Linked DNA regions of Homo sapiens: regions 2 and 3 are each linked to region 1. Evidence: promoter capture Hi-C in human tissues and cell types (Jung and others, 2019). All regions are on one chromosome and are shown on one strand. Each heading gives the region's core, a stretch centred on a gene start or on the middle of the fragment in contact. The rest is flanking DNA. Distances are from core to core; before and after follow the strand shown. Region 1 holds the start of LARP6 (La ribonucleoprotein 6, translational regulator). Region 2 holds the start of THAP10 (THAP domain containing 10). Region 3 has its middle 41 kb from the start of LARP6.

Region 1 (2,700 bases), core at 104-2,603:
ACAAATGTATTGGTCCAGGGTTCTGTTGTTTTGGGGTCCCAGTGTGGCAAATTAATATGATAAATTATGTTTAAGGCTCTAAATAAAGTGCTACATGAAAGCAGATTCAGGTCTTATTCATTTCTTTTTCTTCTTTCCTTCTTTCTTTTTTTTTCTTTTTCTTTTTTTTTTTTTTGAGACGGAGTCTCGCTCTGTTGCCCAGGCTGGAGTGCAGTGGCACAATCTCGGCTCACCACAACCTCTGCTTCCCAGGTTCAAGTGATTCTCCTGCCTCAGCCTCCCGAGTAGCTGGGATTACAGGCACGTGCCACCACGTCCAGCTAATTTTTGTATTTTTTTTAGTAAAGACAGGGTTTCACCATGTTGGCCAGGATGGTCTCGATCTCTTGACCTCGTGATCCGCCCGCCTGGGCCTCCCAAAGTGCTGAGATTACAGGCTTGAGCCACTGCGCCCGGCCGGTCTTATTCATTTCTATGCTCCTGTCCCTAGTTTCTGGGTCACATTTGGAGAGGTGAGATGGAACTCAATTTGAAGTTACACGTGAAAAGGTGGCAGTGTTTTAGAACATCCTGACATTTCAATAGCTCCCTTTATTCATTCAACAAACATCTGAGTGCATACTATGTGCAGGGCATACTCTATAGGCCATCGGCTTTCGAACTTTTGTGAACTTCAGCATCACCTAGAGGCCTTGTTAAAACACAAAGTTCTGAATCATAGATTCTGATTCAGGAGGTCTGGATGAGCCCTGAGAATTCAATTTCTAACAAGTTCCCCGGTGCAGCTGATGCTCCTGGTCTGGGAACCACACTTGGAGAAAAACTGATACAGGGCAAGGCAGGAGCCAAGCCCCTGACCTCCTAAGACGCGGTCTAGGGTGGTTATTATGTCAAGGAGACTAACGATGGAAATTTTCTGATCTTGGCAGGCCAGTGGGGGAGACACGCAGGAGGCCTGGAAGCCCCTGGAGCTGTGGTCTCTGGCTGCCACCCCCGGAGTCAAGCACAAACAGAAGTCAGCTGTGCTGCGCCCATCCCTGCGGCGCCGTGAAAGAAGGCGCAGGAGGAGGGAGCCCTGACACCTCCTCTCGGGCTGGGGCCCCACAGCGGCGAAAAGACGGAGGGAGTGATCGGGGGTCGCGGGGATCCTTCCGGGACGGGCCTCCGTCGGAGGAGCTCCGGAAAGCCGCCCTCCACCTCCGAGGCCCCGCCTGCGCGGGCGCTCCACTAGCGGTCGGGGTGGTGGCGGCGGCGGCGGCGGCGGCGGCGGCGCGGGGCGGGGCGCCGCGACCCCTGTCCCTCCCCTGGGCCGAGCGGCAGGCGCGCTCGCACCGCCCCCGCCCCCTCGTCGCAGTCGCTGCCGACCGGCTGGCTGGGCCTTGCGGCGTGAGGACCCCGGCGGCGCCGCAGTCCCGCGAGCCATGGCCCAGTCCGGCGGGGAGGCTCGGCCCGGGCCCAAGACGGCGGTGCAGATCCGCGTCGCCATCCAGGAGGCCGAGGACGTGGACGAGTTGGAGGACGAGGAGGAGGGGGCGGAGACTCGGGGCGCCGGGGACCCGGCCCGGTACCTCAGCCCCGGCTGGGGCAGCGCGAGCGAGGAGGAGCCGAGCCGCGGGCACAGGTAGGCGCGGCGGCTGGCCCGGGAGGTGGGCCCCGAGGGGGCGCCGGGCCGCGCGCGAGTTCGGGGCGCTGACTGCGCGCGACAACTCCTCGGGCAGAGGGGGTTGAGTCAGCCCCGCCGCCGGGGAAGCAGCTCCGGGCCGAGCCCCTGAGTCAGAACCGGCCCGTGGAGGCAGCCGGTGCCCCAGCCCGCAGCTTCGTCGCCCAACCGAGGCTCCCAGGGCTGGCGGCCGGGATCTGAGGGGCCTGGACGTGGGGATGTTCAGGGATCCAGGAGGAGGACTTTCACGGGCCATCCAAGCCACCCCCTCCTCTGGAGGAGGCCTCTTCTCTGTGGGCTCCCTCAAGACACCACCTCCCCATCGCCGCAAAGTCCATCCCTACCCGCCTTCCCCTCCCCTTGCGAGTGGTCCCGCTTACCCTTCACTGCCATCATCGCCCTGCCTTTCCCAGTCCTGCTGGCTGCGCTCAGTCTTTAGGTGGTAGCAGGCCAGGTACAGCGGACACTTGCTGATGGGGGATTCCAGGAGGTGGGATTTCAAGGTAATTTGAGACGGATAGAGGACTTGCTGCTTTACTTCCTCCGCCCTGGGGGATTCCCATTTTCACACAGCCTTTCCCACCAGACCTTTATGTTTGCATCATCTTGCTGCCTTGCGGGGGGCGGGGGGGGGGTGTTCCTGGGTTTTGGGTAGTTTGGAGCTGCTATGGCACTTGTTTAACCTTGTCCCGGGTCCCGAGCTTTGTCCTCAGGCACCTTGGCTCCTGTCCACTAATGCCCAGGCCCTTAAGGACTGGTGTTTTGTTCCTGCTGTTGAAAGGAGATAAAACATAGACATAGACATGAGAGTGGGGAAATGACAGAACTTGCACATTCTGGTGGATGCCAACAGGCACTTATTAGGAGCTCTCTTTCTTCTAGGACCCTGTCCCAGGCGTTTAGCTGTTAAGGTTCTGCAGGATTGTCCTGGCAAGCGTATATCTACTTCACTGGGAGAATACTCAACTCAAGGGTGGAAGAATACTGGGCCCAGAGCCATTCTCTATTACTGGCTCACCCTTCCCCAGGTTAAAGGGTCA
Region 2 (2,700 bases), core at 99-2,598, 38 kb before region 1:
GAACTAGCTTTAAACTGGAAATCAAAGCAAATCTACTTAAATTTTTCAGTTTAGAATCTATCTACACTTTAAGTCATGCTGCTATTTGTGTAGAATTTAAAACAATCTTCAATTTAAATGCCAACCTTCTTAAATCTTACTTTGTTTTTTTCAGGAAGCGATGATGTTTGAATAACCAGATGAAGCCCGCAGTTCACCTGAAATGTAAAAATTAAACCATAAAATTTGCTCTTAATACACAAACACATATTTCCAAAAAAAAAAAAGGTACAAACAGAAATACAACAAAAAAATAGAACACAATGCTCTATTTCTGTTTCTGGTAAATGATCTTGTTCTGAGGATTTGCTGAAAACAATAAAATCACATCTAAGAATTAAAAGGTTTCACTGATTTATTTTCCAAAATGTCGGCAGCAATTTAACCCTCTAGTTAGTACCTCAGGCTTTCGACATTTGCCATTCAGGTCTAAATAAACATCTCAATGAGACAGGTGAAGGAGGTGGGAGTCCCTAATGATAAATTCTCTTCACAGTTAAAAGGAAAAGAAAAGAAAAAGGAATTGACTGGCCAAAGGAATTTAAATAAACCCAAGCCTTTCACAGCAGACCAGCTCCACCTTCTGGGGAGCCCAGATCCTGGACAAGACTTTGAGTACCCATCATACAATATTAAATTGTGCCTTGGTCCAGCCCACGAACCTCAAACCCTGGTCAGACAATAGCTTGAGTAGACCCAGCGGTGCCGGTCCTAATAATACAGCCCATCTCCTAGGACAAAGACGCCAGTCAGAAAGAGTACCAGTGGGAAGAAAGAGAAAGTAGAAGGCCCAACTTACGTTGTTCGCAGCCCGGCCAGAAACAGAGCGATATTTCCCGGGAATCATGATAGGAGACAGTCCAGGTTCTCTGTTAGATCTGCCTTCCAGGTGACGCTACAGCGGAGATTCAAAGAGACCCGAAAGAGGTCATCTCCCAGGCAACCTGCTCAGGGTTACCATGGAAACGACCATTTCCGGTCTGGACCTCTCCCGAATCGATAGAGCCACACAGTCGTTGCAGCTTCTAGTTGTATTCGTGAGAGCCCAGTGCGTCACCACTTCCTCGTTCTATTTTCCCAGCCTCATAAAAACAGAGCGGGAGTATTGGGAGGAGGATAAGCTGGGGAAGAGGCTGGCCACACTGGTTGCTATAACCACCACCACTTCCGGTCCGTTCCTCTTTACGGCCCACCTCAGCGCTGCCCGCGCGAAATTTGTATCCCTCTGCTTGTGTCCACTGGCTCCTGGGGAGCAGCGCAGGGAGGAGGAGGAGGAAGATATCAAAGAGCCCTCCCATTGGGGGCCCCAGATCGCCACTTCCGGTGACCAGAGGTAGGGAAGGAAACAATCCCGACCCGGAGTGGACAGGTGAGGAGGGGAGGACTTGCCTCGCCGAGGCCGCTGCGAGGAGCGTGCCCAAGGGCGAAGGTCCAGGGAACCCGGCTCCCGCGCACCGAAGACGGCCGCCATGCCGGCCCGTTGTGTGGCCGCCCACTGCGGCAACACCACCAAGTCTGGGAAGTCGCTGTTCCGCTTTCCCAAGGACCGGGCCGTGCGGCTGCTCTGGGACCGCTTCGTGCGGGGTTGCCGCGCCGACTGGTACGGAGGCAATGACCGCTCGGTCATCTGCTCTGACCACTTTGCCCCAGCCTGTTTTGACGTCTCTTCGGTTATCCAGAAGAACCTGCGCTTCTCCCAGCGCCTGAGGCTGGTGGCAGGCGCCGTGCCCACCCTGCACCGGGTGCCCGCCCCGGCACCTAAGAGGGGAGAGGAGGGAGACCAAGCAGGCCGCCTGGACACGCGAGGAGAGCTCCAGGCAGCCAGGCATTCTGAGGCTGCCCCAGGTCCAGTCTCCTGTACACGCCCCCGAGCTGGGAAGCAGGCTGCAGCTTCACAGGTAAAGAGAGACCACCGAAGGTTGTGTAAGGACCCCTGGACTCTGGCTGGGCTCCTCCACTTAGTGTCACCTTGGGAAAGGCACCTCATCTCGAAAGTTCCTGTTTTCTAATCTGCAAAGTTAGGGGTGTGCTTTAGAGGTGATCTCCAAGGTCCCACTTATCATTAACACTTTGGAATTAAGTGACCCAGTTAATTCCTTCTAACTGCTCCTCCCCCAAAACTCACACACACACACACACACACACACACACACACACACACACACACACACACAGAGTCTTGTCCTGCAGAGTAGTGAGTTGCTTTCACTCGCTGCTCCAGAGTTTTTAAATAGAAAGGGTTTAATTTGAGCAAATCTCCAGGATTGGAGTGCTTGAAACTGTGTTGCATAACATTACATAAGCTTGAGGAAAGTCCCTTATTTGTGTCACAAATGATGGGGCGAAGGAGATGTGGAGCTACAGATGAAGATGATGGAGCTTGCTAATAAATCCCTTCCCACCCCAAGCTTCCTTTATGACTGATAACTAGCTCCAGCTGCCTTTAAGTTCAGTATCCCTAGTGAGCTGACTTTCCCCATCTTGCTCTCTTCTGCCTACTTTTCTGTTCCTTCTAAACATTGTTTGCACTCATTTTGCATCTGGTTACTACTACCTTCTTCCCCACGTACCATTTTAAAGAAAACTTTCCAGCCTTCCTTGTGATAAACTTCAGCCTTGCCACCATTACACAGATTAAATTATAGCAAGAGGTTAGTAATT
Region 3 (2,716 bases), core at 176-2,675, 41 kb after region 1:
CTAAATGGCAGCTTTCCCATTCTTCTTAAGGGTCACGTGCTCCTGTATTTAGTGGTGGTGGGGTGGAGTTGTCTTCCTACTCCCACATCTCAGTTTTCCCCTGGCCTCCATCCCTCTGAGCTCTTTTGTCTTCTGGCAGCTCTTGGTTCCTTGTGGTCCCCAGTTCAGGTCATCACTGGGCAAGCCTGCCCCAGCATCCTGCTGCTTCCTGCACAATGATCTCCGAGCATTGGGAGGCAGCAAATGTGTCTCTCCTGTCTTCATGACATAACCACACAAAAGTGAATAAATATATCCAACTTTACTCAAGGTGGGAAAATTAAAGAAAGTCACAACATATCAGAGAAAAGTTTTAAATGGCCATCAATACCATTTTTCTTGTGCTCCCAAGGAAAACCATTCAATGAATTAAACATTTCATTGAATGGTTTTCCATGGAAAACTGGAGACTCTTTAGGTGGTGCCTTTCAGTTTTTAATCTTGTTCTTTTGACTTTATATCTACCTTCCTTTCAGAGACACAGCCTCCTTCAAACCTTCCCCCTCTGGAATGTTGCTGTGGTTCAAATGTGTCCCCCAAAAGGCATTAAGCTTAATCCCCAGTGTAACAGTATTAAGAGGTGGGACCTCTAAGAGATGAGGCCATGCGGGCTGTACCCAATGAGTGGATTGATACTGTTTTCATGAGATTGGGTTCATTATTGCAGGAATGAGTTCCTCCTGAGAAGATTACTTCAGCCCCCTTCCCTCTCACGTGTGTGCACTCTTGCCTGTGTGATGCCCTCCGCCATGTTATGACAGCAAGAAGGCCTTCCCAGATGTGGCAACTTGATCTTGGACTTCCCAGCCTCCAGAACCATGAGCCAAATAAATTTCTGTTCATTATAAATTACCCAGTCTATGGTATTCTGTTGTAGCAGCAAAAAATCCACTAAGACAGGTATGTATCCTCTCCTGTGTTTGAGAAACTTCACCTCCCACCTACAGGGACTGGTCTGTCACACAAGGCTCTCCCACACCCTACCCAACTCCCCCCGAGAGTTGATTTAGCCAAGTCTTAGTTATTCCATTCAGAATTGCACCTGGTAGCTCATCAAACTGGTCCAAGACAAACTTGGGCTCTCCAAGTCCCTCAGAGCCAGACGAGCTGTCGGGGATGCAGGGATTCATGCTTGTTTCCCCTTAAGTTGTCCCTACCAAAGTGAATGGAAAAGAGATGTCTTTATTCCTCCTAATGCTCCTGGAATAATAGTCGGTGCATGCACACACTCTCCCCTGACAAACATTAATTCCCAGAAATAGCATAGATTTTACCTTTAAAAAGAAAACAAACCTTATTTTTCCCAAACTGTCCATACTCTACCAGGCTGTGCCTTGGAGTTTCACTTTACATCGTTTTGGTGACCAGAATGTATTCTTTTGCTCAATTTTCCATCCATCCTACCTTCAAATGGTGCTCCCTTCGACTGACCAAGAATAAGAAAAGGGGCCTGTTGGCCATATACCTTTGCTAGTAACTTGTAAAGCGTCTCAAAGACCCCCCCCCCGCCCCATTGCCCCAAAAGCTTGGAAAGTATTATTTATAATGTGAGAGACAAATGAAGTTTTTAGATGATGGAGCCATGCATGCTGTTCTCCAATTTCTGTCCCAATGTGGTGAGGGGGCAGAGGTGTGTGTGTCTGTGTGTGTGTGTGTGTGTGTGTCTGTGTGTGTATGCGCATGCAGGAAGGTTGGGAGGGTAATTCTTCCAGTTATAATAGCAATAAAAATGGTGATGACTGACCCGTCCTAAATGTTATAGCATCTCTCATTCCTGACCCAGAGAGCTATAAAAATACCAGTGCCTCACCCTGCACTATTAAATCAGAGTCTCTGGGAGGTAAAGCCTGGGCATTGTGGTTTTTAAAAGCCTGCAGGTGATTCCAATGTGCAGCCAGGACTGAGAACCACTGGGAAATTGCCACAGCTGGAAAAAGTCACCTTTTGATTCACCTGAAATGAATGATGCAGACTAAGGTAGCATTGTTCCATCAGGCTCCTTTCAGCATCCAAGATTCTGGGTAAAACCTCAAATAGAATGGGGTGTGAGGGTACTGGCTTCCCACGATGCAGTTGGTATGGAGGGTCTGGAATGGCAGTCACCACCAATCCCAGGAAGAGGCTCCCACAGCATAGGCAGACCCTTATTTTTTTTTTTTTTTTTTTTTTTTTTGGAGATGGAGTCTCACTATGTCGCCCAGGCTGAAGTGCAGTGGTGCGATCTCGGCTCACTGCAAGCTCCGCCTCCCGGGGTTCACGCCATTCTCCTGCCTCAGCCTCCCGAGTAGCTGGGACTACAGGCGCCCGCCACCACGCCTAGCTAATTTTTTGTGTGTTTTTAGTAGAGACGGGGGTGTCACCGTGTTAGCCAGGATGGTCTCGATATCCTGACCTCGTGTTCCGCCCGTCTCGGCCTCCAAAAGTGCTGGGATTACAGGCTTGAGCCACCGCGTCCGGCTAGCAGACCCTTATTCTTAATGTAAAGTTATGACTGCAATTATTGTACAGTGCCTGATACAGAGCGGACCTCAACAAATACAGTACTTGAAATAAATACGACCACAGAGAGTAAACAAGCAGTTACTCTCTTCTACCACAAGATGGCAACATTTCAAGACTCACTCTAGAACAATGCTCAAGTCTCAACTGCCAAAATGAAAAGGATGCACGGTTGATA

Evidence for each region. The method cuts DNA at HindIII sites, captures the fragments that hold promoters and counts their contacts. A contact is called where the count stands out against the background at its distance.
Region 2: the fragment with the promoter of THAP10 here is called in contact with the fragment with the promoter of LARP6 in region 1 in 1 of the 25 tissues and cell types used here (psoas muscle).
Region 3: a contact is called between a fragment that was not itself captured here and the fragment with the promoter of LARP6 in region 1, in 1 of the 25 tissues and cell types used here (pancreas).

Annotation. Positions count from the first base shown.
Region 1 is chr15:70,852,810-70,855,509 of GRCh38, reverse strand. It overlaps LARP6 (La ribonucleoprotein 6, translational regulator), which reads left to right and starts at 1,353. Exons shown (of 3, transcript NM_018357.4): 1 at 1,353-1,621. The coding sequence starts at 1,422. It also overlaps a transcript of LRRC49 not described here. RefSeq lists an enhancer at 1,463-1,964. The HindIII fragment of the contact is 12,354 bases long and covers 1-2,700 here.
Region 2 is chr15:70,891,081-70,893,780 of GRCh38, reverse strand. THAP10 (THAP domain containing 10) reads left to right here and starts at 1,348. Exons shown (of 3, transcript NM_020147.4): 1 at 1,348-1,937. The coding sequence starts at 1,509. It overlaps LRRC49 (leucine rich repeat containing 49), which reads right to left and starts at 955. Exons shown (of 16, transcript NM_017691.5): 1 at 839-955; 2 at 141-197. The coding sequence starts at 886. RefSeq lists an enhancer at 995-1,693. The HindIII fragment of the contact is 16,576 bases long and covers 1-2,700 here.
Region 3 is chr15:70,812,166-70,814,881 of GRCh38, reverse strand. No RefSeq gene overlaps it. Among named protein-coding and RNA genes, the nearest start is that of LARP6, 41 kb to the left of the region's middle. The HindIII fragment of the contact is 4,907 bases long and covers 1-2,716 here.